2 separate regions of the Homo sapiens genome follow, and region 1 is linked to region 2. The links are contacts of gene promoters, found by promoter capture Hi-C in blood cells and fetal thymus (Javierre and others, 2016). All regions are on one chromosome and are shown on one strand. Each heading gives the region's core, a stretch centred on a gene start or on the middle of the fragment in contact. The rest is flanking DNA. Distances are from core to core; before and after follow the strand shown.

Region 1 (2,700 bases), core at 29-2,528, 2.0 Mb after region 2:
TTGGTGCCTCACAAGGAGGTTCCCTGATCTTTCAGACAGACCCAGGTATTTCTTCCCCCCCTTGTAGCTACTATGATGCCTGCTCAGCTTCAGAGTGGCGTCAAGTACTTGTAACTGTTGGTGTAACTCTCTCCACAACCCTATCATCTCTGTAAGGGCAGGGACTTGATCTATGCATCTTTCCCCCACATTTAATGTATTCAGTGTTTATGGCATTAATAAGTTAATGAATTATTTTATCTGTTAAGTCTCTGTGCAAGAAAGGTGCCCTTTTATTGAACCAAACTCTGGCTGCTCACAACTTTTATTCAGTAACGGACAGAAAGTCATGGATATTCATGAAACAACAGCAGGGGTACAGTCTAGGTCTGGTCATGACCTAACAGCTCACAACTCTTAAGATTGAAGGGGAGGCCTGAGGCCTGTTTGCTTAGCAAGTGTGTTCACCTCATTTTTCTTACAGCTTGTTTGAGATAGTCCAGGGAGGTGATTCTTTGGAAACAGACTGAATTTTCTGAACATAACTGCATATATCTGTGCTGCAAAGTACATGTAATTTTTTCAGATGACACAGATAAAAGTCCTGCCTTCTTCAGAGATTCAGATCTCATCCCCAAATTTTCAAGGCCATTGCACTATTGTAGATAATTTGAATTACATGTATTATTCTGATAATTTCCATTGAAATTAGACTTTTCACCCTTACATATTGGTGGAAAGAAGGGTATCAATTCACATTTTGTAAGCAGCAGTGTGTTTATGTGTGTCTCTCCTTTTAAAGCACAAGTGGGCCAGGCGCGGCAGTTCCCGCCTATAATTCCAGCACTCTGGCAGGGCGAGGTGGATGGATCACTTGTGCCCAAAAGTTCTAGACCAGCTTGGGCAACATGGTGAAAACCCATCCTTTAAAAAAAAAAAAATGCACTTTGGGAGGCCAAGGCGGGTGGATCACGAGGTTAGGAGTTCAAGACCAGCCTGGCCAACATGGTGAAACCCCTGTCTCTACTAAAAATACAAAAATTAGCCGGACATGGTGGCATGTGCCTGTAATCCCAGCTACTCAGGAGGCTGAGGCAGGACAATTGCTTGAACTGGGGCCCGGGAGGCAGAGGTTGCAGTGAGCTGAGATCGCACCACTGCACTCCAGCCTGGGCTACACAGTGCAACTCTGTCTCAAAAAAGAAAAAAAAATGCAAAAATTAGCCAGGTGTGGTATGGGAGGCTGAGGCGGGAGGATCCCTTGAGCCTGAGAGGTGGAGGTTGCAGAGAGCCAATATCTGGCCGCTGCACTCCAGTCTGGGTGACAGAGCAAGACCCTGTCTCAAAAAAACAAACAAACAAAAACAACACACCACCACTGACGTATGTTAGATGTGAAGAAAAATAGAAAATACAGAGAAAAGGTTAAAATATTTTGGAATCTCACTGCTTAGAGACAGCCATCGTATACATATTTGCAGCTCTTTTCCTATACATAGATATATATCTGTATAATTTTAATAGCATTTAAAATCATATAGTATAAAATGAATATCTTTAGTAGCAACAAATATATATATTTGATTGCATATTATCCATCATATGTGTGGAATACAGCTTGCAACTGTAAATGTAGATTTTATAGTCTACAATTTTTGAAACACTTAGAGTTGTTCTCATTTTCCCCACTCATGGAGAGTGTTATAGGATTGTTACATTGGGTAAGTGAAGAAATACACGGAAAGCACTCAGCAGAATGCCTGTCGAATAGTAAGTGCTCAATATTAACATTACTATTATTTTCATTGTCTGTTTCCTCAGAGTCAAGTTCTTGGAAGTAGACTTGCTAATCATATTATGCACTTTTTTGTGGGGAGGGGGAGTTGATACATTTCACCTAATTTTCAAGCAGAAAACTCCATCCCCCGAGAAGTGAGTGAGAAGACTTCTTTCCTTAGCCTTGTCAACAGTGTATACTGTCTGTATTTTTATCCAGGATCAACTGATAATTTAAAAATTATAACATGTTTGAATTTGCATTTTTTGATATTAGAGAGATTCTGTGTTTTGTTTTGTTTTTGCCACATGTGAACTGGCCATTTATATTTATTCTTTTGGGAATTACCTATTCATGTCCTAGACCGTTTTTCATTTGGTTGTTCATCTTTTTCTTATTGATTTATAAGTTGTTTTTTTTTTTTGGAGACAGAGTGTTACTCTGTCACCCAGGCTAGAGTGCAGTGGCACAACCTCGGCTCACTGCCACCTCTGCCTCCCGGGTTCAAGCAATTCTCCTGCCTCAGCCTCCCGAGTAGCTGGGATTACAGGTGCATGCCACCACACCCAGCTAATTTTTGTATTTTTAGTAGAGACGGGGTTTCACCATCTTGGCCAGGCTGGTCTCAAACTCCTGACCTCAGGCGATCTGCCCGCCTCAGCCTCCCAAAGTGCTGGGATTATAGGCATGAGCCACCATGCCCAGCCAGGAAAACACAATTTTAATTATTATGTTTAACTCTGTGAGTATGCTCTTCTGCCCAAAAATAATGGTGGTGACCAGGAATGGACACCTGCCTCAGACTGGGCCAGTCACATTCTCTACTGAAAATCTGAAATTCCAACAAAAGGCAACGAGTTAGTTGCTACCAATATTTAGCAACTACAATGAATGATTCGTGTCTATGTAATTAAATTTTTTAAGTGAGTAAATTTAGGGGCTGG
Region 2 (2,700 bases), core at 43-2,542:
AGTCACTGGATTATTCTCTACAATTATCTCCATTTCCTTCTCTCCACTAAAACTGCTGTAGCCCGGGTCACCACCACCACCCTGATTTCTAAATCTTGTGGCCACTTCTCAGTCGTTACATGTGACATGTTCTCTCCAGAGTGTTCATCACTGTTGATGTTCCCTCTTGAAGCGCCCTTCTTTAGCTGCCGTTACACCGTACTCCTACCTGGTCAGTGTCCTTTGGTGACTTCTCTACCTGCCCTTGCTGTTCTAACCTGGGCCCTCGTGCTCTTTACACACTCTCTCATCCATTTCCATAGCTTCAATTGCCATCTGCTTTCAGAAGATTCCAGAATCTCTATCACCAGCCTTGATTTCGCAAACTCCAGTCACATATATTCAGTTACCCCTTTAACATTTGTATTTGGATGTCCTGTGGGCATCTCAAACTCATTATGTCCAAAGCTGAACTCCTCACCTCGGCCTCCCAAACCTGTTCCTTGGGCCCCAAACCTGGGCATTTCCTTGACTTTTCCCCCTTATTCGCACATGCAGTCATTCCCAAGTTCTGATCATTTCAGTTCCTGAAGATCCTTGAAATGATCAGCGCTCCACCCTCCCTGCGGTTACTCTAGTTCAGGCCACCCTCTCCCATTTAGGGGGCGGATCTCCCTGTCTCTGGCTTTTCCTCTGTCGGCCACAGTGCAGCCGGTGTCTTTCTAAAACCCAGCAAATTGGGCTGCTAATAATCCCTTGCTTGAAAGCCTTCAGTGACTCCATGATCTTGCCTCTGCTGATTTGTTTCATGTCTCTCCATATCACATGTCGCAGTGTATTTCCTCTTCTTTTACATTGTGGGATCCGCTGCGCCTGGCACAAGGTAGGTGCGCCATCGATACGTGGAAGATTCACAAGGGCCAAGCCGCCACGAGGCTCTATATCGACTTGATGGCCACAGGCAGCGCGTGGGACTCTGCATCTGCTGCTTGGCTGTGGGAGCGAGAAGACACCTGGCCCTGTGCACTCCTTGCCGCGCTCTCCAATTCTGAGAAGTGACAATACCTTTCTTTCCCCGATTAGGAAAGAGGTGACACACCTTCCTATCAGCTGAGCAGGGTGGGCCAAGACACGGTGAGGCCTCAGCTCCGCAGCTCCACTTCCTGGGGCTCGGCCCGTTCCAGAACAAAAGAGACTCGCGCATGTTCTGCGGCCACGAGACTCGCTCCCGCCGGCCTTAAGGTGTCGCCCTCTGGCCAGAGCGGATGCGCCGGGCGGTGGGGCCGCTCCTGCCGGCTACCTGCGCAAGCGCAGAGGGCTCTTCCGGCGCCTTCCCAGGCGGGGATGCTGCGGCTCCGCAGCGGGCTGAGGCACCTTCGGGCAACACCCAATACTCGGGGCTCCGCTCGGCTTCTTTGCGCCGAGATGCCTAAGAAGGCTGGTGCGACGACCAAGGCCAGTAGCAGGTCCCGTGGCGGCAGAGGGGTGGGCCTCAGGGGTACTTGTTGAAGAGCGCGGGAGAAGCGGGGCCCGGGAGTGAGTGGAGGCACTGCCAGCGGCTTGCCGTCTCTCAGTTCCGGGGCTCAGGACAGCCGCCGCCACCCCCAGAGCTGCGGCCTGCTGCCGTCGCCCCGCCTCAGTAGGCTGCGCTGCCGTCCACCTGGTGATTTCTGAGCGCTGGGCCCGGCGGCAGCCGAGCTCTCCTTGGGCTGCGTGTGCTGACCTTTGGCCTCCTACCCGCACTCCCAGTCCAGCAATTCATGTTCCCGCAGCGGCATGACCTGCGTTTCCCCAGGAGGCTGTATTCTGCTTTCTCCTCCCTTGCTTTGGCTGATCGCACCCCTTCTGTCAAGAATACAGCACTCCCATTTCCACCATCTTTGTTTGGCCAACCCCAGTCCGTTTCTCAGACTCAGCTCAAGCACTGCCTCCTGCTGGCAGCATTCTCCAGTGCCCCAATGCTGATTTGCCTGTGGGGTAATGTTCTGTGCCTATCTCATCGGTGCACTTAGCACAGTGTATTATAATTTTGTATGTTCTTTCTCCCTCGCAGCAGTCCGAGCTCCTTGAGAGCAAGGACCATGTACCTTTTCATCTTTACATATCCATTGCCTACATATTTGTTGAACGAAAGTTCCTAGCACAGCCCCTGTCCCATAACAGGCCTTTAAATATCAAGCACTATTTTTTTTTCCTCCCTTTCCCGCAACATGCAGACATACACACTTTCACCAACATTTATTAGCTCCGACTGCATGAGATACAATGATGAATAATAAATGATCCCTGCCCCCAAGGAATTGGAAATACAAAGCAGAGGGAGGAGCAAGCATTAAGGTTTAGAAGCCAGAGTTAGGTTTTCTTGCAAGGGGGGAAAAAACACTGTTGGGTTGATGGGAACCCTTCGTGGGAAAATTGAGTAGAGCCTTGAAGGTTGTGGGAAAAGCTTTCTAGGTGGCCAGAAGTCCCTGGACACCACTGATGAGCCTAGTTTGTCTGTTAAGGGTGAAAGGGGGTAGTGGAAGAATCAAATTAAATGTGTGGGAAAATATTTTGTAACCTGTAAAGTTGTGTGGTTGTCATTTTAGGGTAAAAGCCAGAGCAAGGAACCAGAGAGACCACTTCCTCCCTTAGGTCCTGTGGCAGTTGATCCTAAAGGATGCGTCACCATAGCCATCCATGCAAAACCTGGCTCCAAACAAAATGCTGTAACAGGTATAC

Evidence for each region. The method cuts DNA at HindIII sites, captures the fragments that hold promoters and counts their contacts. A CHiCAGO score of 5 or more calls a contact.
Region 1: a fragment that was not itself captured here is called in contact with the fragment with the promoter of C15orf40 in region 2 in 6 of 17 cell types (activated CD4 T cells, total CD8 T cells, naive CD8 T cells and 3 more); the score reaches 11.5 in activated CD4 T cells.

The regions. Positions count from the first base shown.
Region 1 is chr15:80,992,957-80,995,656 of GRCh38, reverse strand. No RefSeq gene overlaps it. Among named protein-coding and RNA genes, the nearest start is that of MIR4514, 3.2 kb to the left of the region's middle. The HindIII fragment of the contact is 7,858 bases long and covers 1-2,700 here.
Region 2 is chr15:83,010,231-83,012,930 of GRCh38, reverse strand. C15orf40 (chromosome 15 open reading frame 40) reads left to right here and starts at 1,292. Exons shown (of 4, transcript NM_144597.3): 1 at 1,292-1,434; 2 at 2,568-2,694. The coding sequence starts at 1,324. It overlaps LOC124903542 (a long non-coding RNA gene), which reads right to left and starts at 1,190. Exons shown (of 2, transcript XR_007064742.1): 1 at 1-1,190. RefSeq lists an enhancer at 1,055-1,114. The HindIII fragment of the contact is 2,628 bases long and covers 1-2,427 here.